Regions from separate parts of the Homo sapiens genome. Here regions 2 and 3 are each linked to region 1. Evidence: promoter capture Hi-C in 16 types of primary human blood cells and fetal thymus (Javierre and others, 2016). All regions are on one chromosome and are shown on one strand. Each heading gives the region's core, a stretch centred on a gene start or on the middle of the fragment in contact. The rest is flanking DNA. Distances are from core to core; before and after follow the strand shown. Region 1 holds the start of DIMT1 (DIM1 rRNA methyltransferase and ribosome maturation factor). Region 2 overlaps BTF3 (basic transcription factor 3). Region 3 overlaps TNPO1 (transportin 1).

Region 1 (3,229 bases), core at 258-2,757:
TATCTGGAAATATTCCAATAGCCTCTTGTTACCTTCTCTGTTCGTATCAACAAGTTCAAATGGGAAAGGACTGTACGTGTTGGGCGAAGATTTTTCAATTTTCAACCCATGTATGGTTTCAAGGATGCAGAAGAGCAGAAACTGTACACAAAATTGAATGTCTGCACACAGCTCTAATATTCTACGGCCATAGCTTTCATCAGATGCTCAAAGGAAACTATGAGCTAAAAAGGTTAAAATAGTACATGACCCTTCTTTCTTTTTTTCTCAGTTTTCAAATGACACGAAGCCTGACAAGATCCTTTAACTATGTAATGCTCTTTCTACAGCTCCAGGATGCTTTCCTTGCTTTTAACCATAAGTGTAATCTGCACCGTGTGTATTTCACTTCCTAACACCCAATCATCCATAACCATAAGAGAACATCAATAACTCAGAAAGCAGTAATACTCCAAGCAATTTATATGTGGTACTAGCATACACCAAATAATTTATATGTAGTACTATATGTTTTTCTGGGGAACAAACTTTCTAATGTGTAGTTTAGACATAAATAGATGGAGTACATAAAAACTAAGTGATCAAAAAGGTGATTAGAAATAGAAGAATAATTATCTTGAACAAATACAAAGGTCCAGCTATAAAGTAGATAATCCACAAAAAGACACAGAATTGGGAACCAGGAGAAACTCAGACCCACAAAATGAAGCTTATCATGCAGAAGACAGCCCAAGAATCCTAGACAATTATTTGATTCATTCAACAAATATTTACAGAGCATCTAATTTACGGCAGGCAGACTTTCTGCGCTTATGTATTCATAGGAATAAAATTAATAAACCAACAACTCTCTCCCTTTCCTCTTCCACACCCACCTTATCGATAATGCTGTTAATAATGAGAGGATTTTTCAAAATGTGCTGCCCAATCCCCGTGTTGAACATGAGTCCTGTAAGAAAATACGAAACAGCATTAATTTTCCTACTGAGATTAGATATTAGGCAGTACCAGAGAAGAAAGCTGCATGGGTATGGGGAAGATTTCTGCGCCAACCAGGGCCACGAAACGTCACGCCAGGACTGACAAACTCTTTATAAGTTCATCCTCCAGCTGGAAAGGAAGTCAGCGGCGACGCGCAGGGCCTGCGGCCGAGTCGGGGACCCACCCCTGCCTTCCGCGCTCACGGGAGCGCGTCCTGACCGGCCTCTGCCGATCAGGTCTTGGTCCGCACCCCAGGCTAGGTCCTGCCGGAAGACCTGACCCGACCGACCCCAGCTTCCTCGCGGGGATCCGCACCTCCAGCGCTCTTCAGCTCCCGGCGCTGCTCCTGCCGCCCGCGGCGGCGGCCGATGGCCCCCGACTTGACCTTCGGCATCTCGGCAGAAAGCGGGCCCACAGGCCCGGGACGTCAAGGAGGACCAAAGAGGGCTAGCGTGAGAAAGCCACCACGTGGGGATCGCCGCCACGCGCCGCCCGCACCACTCTGGCCCAAGCGCCGGAGGGGCAAGGGTCCGCCCCCTCCCGTACGCTCTGAGCTCCTCCTCCAGAAAAAGGGCGGACCTTGGAGCCCACTGACTGCCGGGAATTGGAGTCACAGAGGGAGGAAGGCCGAACCGCGGGAGCCTACAGATCCCAGAAGACACCGCGCTACCGAGGACTGCAGTCTGGAGTTGGAGCCCTTGTCCCAACCAGGGCTGGATAAGAAGGTGTTGGTGTGGTGCTCTCGGTGTTGCGAAGGCTGTTTAAGTTATATGATGAGGTTAAGCCTATGGATGTTTTAGTAGCCTAGGTTCTGGGATCGCTGAGGTCCAAAGAAGTATTCACGTGCCTCGCTCCTGTTTTCCTGAAGCTTGTGGGGGTGGGAAACCCGGGATTTGGGGATGAGCTTGCTCTTTTGTGGGAATGCATTTTTTGCTGCTTGCCCTGGGGAAAAGAACTGCGAGAATGGAATTAACGTCTGGTTTCGCTAGGGCTACTGGTTGCTTCTACTAAGAATAGAAGAGCCGGGCGCGGAGGCTCACGCCTGTAATCCCAGCACTCTGGGAGGCAGAGGCGGGCGGATCACAAGGTCAGGAGATCGAGACCATCCTGGCTAACACGGGGAAACCCCGTCTCTACTAAAAATACAAAAAATTAGCCGGGCGTGGTGGTGGGCGCCTGTAGTCTCAGCTACTTGGGAGACTGAGGCAGGAGAGTGGCGTGAACCCAGGAGGCGGAGGTTGCAGTGAGCCGAGATCGCGCTACTGCACTCCAGCCTGGGCGGCAGAGCGAGACTCCGTCTCAAAAAAAAAAAAAAAAAAAAAGGAATAGAAGAATAATTATCTTAAACAGATACAAAGCTCCAGCTACAAAGTAGATAATCCACAAAAAGACAGAATTGAGAACCAGGAGAAACTCAGACCCACAGAATGAAGCTTATCGTGCAGAAGACAGCCCGTGAATCCTAGAAAATTATTTGATTCATTTAACAAATAATTCAACAAATTCCTTTTGTGCCTCATCATTCACTCCGTAAACATTTATTGAGCTCCAACTGTGTATCAAACACTGCTAGGGATTCTAAGTAAGAAACTTATTTCAAAGTGTATTATATTGACAGAGATGGACAGAAACTCCAAAACGCTGTAAATACGATAACGTATTGGTCGTTGTGACAGGACAGTGTACCTGACTATAAACTCCGTGTGTACCAGGGCCATAATATCCACATCTGTTTTGCCAGCCAGTGTAATGGCTCTTTTAAATTTTTCTGTGTGTATTCTGTTTGGTTGAAGAAATAGCTTCTTCCTGTCATTACTAAAGCTAACTCTCTTTTGAGCAATTCATTGTGTACATTCCCAAACCTTGGTCTTAGGCCCTTCTTTCTTTGATGTAGTTCTAAGTCAGAAAAAAAATCTCGTATACCCTAGTAGCATCTTCAAGTATATGTTTCATTTCATCAATCATTGTTATTCCACAATTCTAAAGAGTACACTGTGCTAGGCACTTCCAAATGTTAATAGGATGGACATGGCCTGGAGAGGTGGCTCATGCCTGTAATCCCAGCACTTTGAGAGGCCAAGGCGAGCGGATCACTTGAGCTGAGAAGTTTGAGATCAACCTGGGCAACAAAGTGAGACCCCGTCTCTACAAAAAATACAAAAATTAGCCAGGCGTGGTGGTGCAGGCCTGTAGTCTCAGCTACTCGGGAAGCTGAGGTGGGAGCCTCACTTGAGCCCGAGAATTTGTA
Region 2 (3,229 bases), core at 306-2,805, about 11 Mb after region 1:
TTAGAGTTAGCTGTGAGATAGCCAGAAGTTGCACTTAGACTTAAATAATAATATACAGCTTTGTTAAATTACTGAACTTTGCCAGCGGTGAATTTATCCTGATTTTTTTTTACTTTTTATTTTTGTTAACGTTAGCCATCTTCAGGATCCACACCCACACATTTAACAACATTAGATGTTTCTTGTCCTCTTTAATCAATTGTTATCAGACTGTGGCCTTCAAGTGCCAGCAAAACTCAAATTTTTTGTGTCTCAGTGTTTGGATGCTCTTATATTGGTGTTTTTAACCACTCTTACTTTCAGTACAGTTTCAGAAGGAGTAATTTGAATAATGTGCTTATGTGCAGTCTTTTTGTTGTTACTCTCATCATTAGGCTTTAACTTTGGGAGACATCATTTTAGGGTAAAGGAAATCTTGAGATTTGCTAGGATATTTAAAGCTGATAACAAGATTAAATTTTGTGTCCTAACATCTTAATACTCGTTTAGCTAATAATACAAGAAGTATTTCTGTAGTCACAATATGGAAACATTTCTACACTGTTTAAGAAACGTACTTATTATGGGATGTGAAATTAGGTGAGTTAATTTTGCTTTAGAGAAAACTGCAGGTGTTAGGTGCTCTTAGGTAAATGTTACAAAAGCCCTTTATTTTCATATCTAATCACAGCATTAATAATAATTATTTAAGTGAAAATTGAACTCTACATATGTGAAGTGTATGAAACCTCTAGAAAGTATGCTGGGTTTGTCTTTACAATCTTAGAAATTCCTTTGAGTTTCTTAGAGAAGATTTCTTTGGAAACCAGATACATACATGACCATTTCAAAGTGATTTTTGTACTTAATAGTTTGGAGAGGTTAGTAACCAGTACTTTTTTTTTTTTTTTGTAGCCATAGATATTTTCTTCAGTTAAATAACAAGATTTATTTAAGCCTTTACTATGTTGGATCCTGAGAATATAAAATTTTAAGAAGTTTAAAGTCCCTAGGTGGGCTTTAAGCCTAGCAGTGGCGATAATTGTCTTTTCTTAAAAAAATCTTCTTTCACAGTGTAATATACATAGTACAATAGTAGAAGCATTTTCAAAATCTAGAGATGGGAATGATTTGGCATAGGGAAAGGGGGTAATTGCAGAATTTAGGAAAGGCAAACAGGAGGTAATGACTTGAATAAGATTTTAAAGGATGAATAGGAATAGGGATGGAGGTTGGGGGACGGTGAGGTGGTTGGGTGTGATAGACTTTCCTTGAGTGCCTTCAGTGAGCTAGATACTGTTGTAGATACTGGGTTTATAGCAATAAACAGAAGTCCTTATGGAGCTTACATTCTAGGGAGAGGAGATGGATGATAAAATGTATTTATCTCTTATAGTAATAAGTGTTATGAAGAGAAATAAACCAGGATAGAAAGAAATTGATGAGTGAGTGTGGAAGTTGCTATTTTACTTTGGGTAGTTGAGAAAGACCACTTTGATCAGGTGACATAAGAGTAGAGATCTGCAGTGAGGGAAAGAGCCATGTAGATGTTCCGGAAGGAGAGGAACAGCATGTGCAAAGGCCCTTGGGTCATAGCCTGCTTGGCCTGTTCAAAGAATAGCCAAGGTTTATTGGCTAAAGAAGAGGGATGGTAGCAGATGCAGTCAGGAGTGGCATATTAAGGGCAGGACAGTTTGTGTAGGGCTCTTGTAAGTTAAGGTAAGGGCTTCAGACTTTACTATCGAGTCCTATAGAAGTCTATATACAGATTCATTTGATTGTTCCATACACTGTCTTGCCTGTAAATATTAATTTGGATGTTGATTTTTATTTAATATAAAAACAGAAAAGGGGTCAGGCGCGGTGGCTCACACTTGTAGTCCCAACACTTTGGGAGGCCGAGGCAGGCGGATCACTTGACGCCAGCAGTTTGAGACCAGCCTGGCCAACATGGTGAAACCCCATCTCTGCTAAAAATACAAAAATTAACCAGGCATGGTGGTGCCTGTAATCCCAGCTACTCGGGAGGCTGAGGCAGGAGAATCACTTGAACCTGGGAGGCGGAGGTTGCAGTGAGCCGAGATTGCGCCACTCCAGCCTGGACGACACAGTGAGACCCTGTCTCAAAAAAAAAAAAAAAAAAAAACAGAAGAGGTTAATAATTCTGGATGTGGAATTCTTTCAAATGCTTAATTTAGATTGACACATGCTACCTCTTTGATCACTTTTAGAGCAAATGTAAAAAGTAGAACTTTGAAAAGATCATTCTTTTCCTTTCCCATTTTTTGCTTCTATCTTCGCCTTAGCCTGCCTGCTCACTGCATAAGTTTATGATTATGGTAATGTTCTTATACAGATCCAAAGGTCAGAAATGAATTGGAAACTATTCCCATTTGAAAAATATCTGTTGTGGTATAAATGTGCTGTTTTCTTTCCTCTTCTCCCTGACTTTAGGGAACTGCTCGCAGAAAGAAGAAGGTGGTTCATAGAACAGCCACAGCAGATGACAAAAAACTTCAGTTCTCCTTAAAGAAGTTAGGGGTAAACAATATCTCTGGTATTGAAGAGGCAAGTATCAAATTTTGTTACTTTAAAAAACAAGATTTGGCTGGGAAAAGTTAACGTTAATGCATTAAATGGGTTGTTTTTTTTTTTTTTAACTTAGGGACTTCAAAGTCCCTAAGATGTGTTTCTACCATAAATTAATAAATATCAGGGAGCTCATTAAGTCTGAATGCTATTAGAATACATATTCCATTCCAGGCAAAATTTCACCTGTGCTTCACAGTGAAATACTAGTTAGCCAGACTTAGTTTAATAAAACATTTGTTTTTAAAGAGACTGGTCAGCATTGCTAATTTAAATTTTTCTTTTCTTAATAGGTGAATATGTTTACAAACCAAGGAACAGTGATCCACTTTAACAACCCTAAAGTTCAGGCATCTCTGGCAGCGAACACTTTCACCATTACAGGCCATGCTGAGACAAAGCAGCTGACAGAAATGCTACCCAGCATCTTAAACCAGCTTGGTGCGGATAGTCTGACTAGTTTAAGGAGACTGGCCGAAGCTCTGCCCAAACAATGTGAGTTTCCTAGTAATGGTTTTACCAGGGAATTACTCATTTAGCAGCTGATTTCTGATCTCAGGGCTCAGAATGGATATGAGTATTTTTAAGTTTGGAAATGCAAGCTTTAAAAATAACAGATTTGTAACTGATTTTAAGCAACTGTCCTTGCTCAAGTTTGCAG
Region 3 (3,229 bases), core at 219-2,718, about 10 Mb after region 1:
ATCTTGGACACATTGCTTAAGTTCTCTTAAGCCTGTTCCTCTTCTGTAAAATGGAGATAATTATAGTACATATTCATGGAATTAAATGAGATCATGTATTTAAAGAATTTAACATAATAACTGGCACATGGAAGGACCCATTAATGATAACAGGGTTGCTGTTATTAGTAGGCATGGTTCAGACTTTGGAATCACACAGGTTTGGTTTTGAATGCCTAATCTGCCACATACTAGCTGGGCAAGCTACTTAACCTCTCTGAACCTCGGTTAATATAAAATGGAGTTAACATCTACCTCATAGTGCTGTTGTGAATATTAAATGGGCTAAAGTATAGGAAGTGTCTGGTTATAGATTGGGTCAAATTTTGAGATCAAGCTTTCCTTCTTATCACTCAATTTGATACCACACTCTTTTTTTTAATGTTGATTTGTAAACTTTAACTAGCATTTAGTAAGCATGTCTAGTCATCTTCAAAGTTCTTCCAGAAAAGACACTCTAAGCATACATTTATTCAAACTTTCCTTAGTACCTATTTTCCATTTTCTGTGTTCTGTTAATCTCTAAACTCCTAGATGACAATAACTTTGTAATGCCAGAAAGTTAAAATTTTAACGTCTTAGCCTATTTTCAAGTGGTGAACTAGATGATTTACCCATCAGTCTCAATCGAGGATGATTTAAACCCCATGTGCCTAGCACTGTGTAACATGAGTTATGGTCCCTGTCCTTCTAATCTAGTTGAGCTCATTTCCGTAACTAATATGAGCTCAACAGTTAGTTTTGCATTTTTTTCTCTTCCTTCTTGATCCATAACCTCTGGTTTTAGACTCTCTCTCTTTTTTTTTTTTTTTTTGGAGACCGAATTTCCCTCTTGTTGCCCAGGCTGGAGTGCAATGGCACAATCTTGGCTCACTGCAAGCTCCACCTCCTTGGTTCAAGAGATTCTCCTGCCTCAGCCTCCCTAGTAGGGATTACAGGCGCCCGCTACCACACCCAGCTAATGTTTTGTATTTTTAGTAGAGATGGGGTTTCACCATGTTGGCCAGGCTGGTCTCGAACTCCTGACCTCAGGCGATCCACCCGCCTCAGCCTCCCAAAGTGCTGGAATACAGGCGTGAGCCACCGCGCCCGGCTCATTATAGACTTTTTTTTCCACCTCCCAGGTTCAAGCAATTCTCATGCCTCAGCCTCCTAAGTAGCTGAGATTACAGGGGCATGCCACCACGCCTGGCTAATTTTTGTATTTTTTTAGTAGAGACGGGGTTTCACCAGGTCTCGAACTCATGACCTTGTGATCCGCCCGCCTCGGCTTCCCAAAGTGCTGGGATTACAGGAATGAGCCACCGCGCCCAGCCTATAGACTTTCTTAAAGGACTTTCTAGTTCCACTGATAGCTATAATTTAACAAGTTTGTCAACGTTTTGATTCATCATTAGGTGCCTGTAAACTTTTCCTTCTTTCCCTTCATACCTGAACTTTGGTTCAATTTCTCATGAAAGTTTTATTAAATAATTGTATTCTTTAAATAGCATGCTCTTTTTAGATCATTGGATAGCTCTGATTTTTTTTCTCCTTGCTCATCATAGCATTTTTCTGTAAAAAAAAAAAACAGTATAAGAGAGATTTTCTGTGGAAGTCTACATATCTGATTCACATTCAGCAAATGATTCAGCAAATTTCTTAAGCTGTTTTGATTTATCTGCTTGTCAAATAAAAATAATACTTGCTACCTACTTACAACAGAGGGGTGTTGTGAAGATTATATTTAGAATGTTTTTAACTCATTTACTCAATGCTATGAGAATACCTCATTTTTATTATATTGTCATACTATATACATACTACTGGTTTTTTAGATCTATTATGACTTTTATGATGGTGAAGTGTGATTTTACTTTTCTCTTTTACCTCACCACAAAGGTATCAAAATATATGTTCTTTCGTATGCACATGGTTGTATTTATGAGTAGTTTCCCAGTTTATGGAGATTGATGTTTCTTTTGGAAAGGCAGTATATCAGGGGCTTCCAGACTGGACACTGGAGCCAGATTAGTTGGGTTTGAATCATGGCTTTGGCATTTACTAGCTGACCAACCTTAGGCAAGTAACTTCTCTGTGCCTCAATGTACTTATTTGTAAAATGTAATTAATAGAGCAGCATCATAGAGTTGTGAAGTGCTTAGAACACTGCTTGGCACTCAAAAATATTAGCTATCACTATTACTAACAAAATAGTGCATGTGTTTAAGTCTTCAATATTTAAGTACCAGAGTTTTTGGTAGCATCTTGGCTCTCTGTGAAACAGGACTGCCCTTCCCCTAACAAACTGGAATTCCATTTTATATGCAGATTGGACAGTTAGGTCTTCCTATGGCTCCTCCTGCCCTCATTGCAAACTGATGGGTTTTAAAAATCATTTTTATTGAAATATGACACATTCTAAAAATTAACCTAATATTAAAGCTATAGAACAAAAGATGAACCTCTCCTTCCCCATGTCTAGGAGGATTAATTCTTTTCCAGACTTTGATCATGTTTTTTATCAATTTAAACCCCTTTCACAAGCTTTGTATTATCCTTAAGATAGTCCAAGCTTCTTAACATCATCTATGAGGTCCTCCTAGCCTCACTTTTGCTTTTTGATAATTCCTGTTAGATTTCTGATAAAGAGTCACTTCCTCAAGGAAGTCCTTTCTTGACCTCCTAACTGGGTTAGCATAATGTTTTCACAGCCCTTAGTCATTTACCATAGTCATTCTCCACTGAGGCAGTGCTGCTCTCTGGAGGTGTCCTAGTGACTGGGAGGTGCTCTTGTCATTTACTGGGCAGGGCTGAGAGTGCTAGATGTTCACCATGAAGAATTGTCCTAGCTTTGTATGACTTGTAAATGTCTTGTTAGATAGTCACAAAGGTGTAAGAAATCTGTTTATAGATATCAGAGCCAAGAGCCTAACTCAATTTTACATATACATGTGGAACTTTTTGCAGAGTTTTAATATATGTTGAATTTTCTAGGAATAAAAACTATGGCCAGGCAGGGTGGCTCACGCCTGTAATCCCAGCACTTTAGGAGGCTGAGGCGGGCAGATCACTTGAGGTCAGGAGTTCCAGACCAGCCTGGACAACATGGTGAAACCCTGTCTCTGCTAAAAATTCAAAAATTAACCGAGCGTGCTAGCACACACCTGTAATCCCAGCTACTCGGGAGGCTGAGGCAGGAGAATTGTTT

What was found. Contacts are between HindIII fragments. The CHiCAGO score rates a contact against its expected background, and 5 or more counts as called.
Region 2: a fragment that was not itself captured here is called in contact with the fragment with the promoter of DIMT1 in region 1 in 3 of 17 cell types (total CD4 T cells, naive CD8 T cells and fetal thymus); the score reaches 15.5 in total CD4 T cells.
Region 3: a contact is called between a fragment that was not itself captured here and the fragment with the promoter of DIMT1 in region 1, in 1 of 17 cell types (activated CD4 T cells). The highest score is 6.1, in activated CD4 T cells.

What each region holds. Positions count from the first base shown.
Region 1 is chr5:62,402,398-62,405,626 of GRCh38, forward strand. DIMT1 (DIM1 rRNA methyltransferase and ribosome maturation factor) reads right to left here and starts at 1,508. Exons shown (of 12, transcript NM_014473.4): 1 at 1,297-1,508; 2 at 876-949. The coding sequence starts at 1,375. RefSeq lists an enhancer at 1,429-1,718. The HindIII fragment of the contact is 1,140 bases long and covers 708-1,847 here.
Region 2 is chr5:73,500,055-73,503,283 of GRCh38, forward strand. It overlaps BTF3 (basic transcription factor 3), which reads left to right. Exons shown (of 6, transcript NM_001037637.2): 3 at 2,434-2,547; 4 at 2,862-3,063. Among named protein-coding and RNA genes, the nearest start is that of BTF3, 3.2 kb to the left of the region's middle. The HindIII fragment of the contact is 3,225 bases long and covers 1-3,168 here.
Region 3 is chr5:72,840,284-72,843,512 of GRCh38, forward strand. All of the region lies in intron 1 of TNPO1 (transportin 1), which reads left to right. Among named protein-coding and RNA genes, the nearest start is that of TNPO1, 25 kb to the left of the region's middle. The HindIII fragment of the contact is 2,189 bases long and covers 375-2,563 here.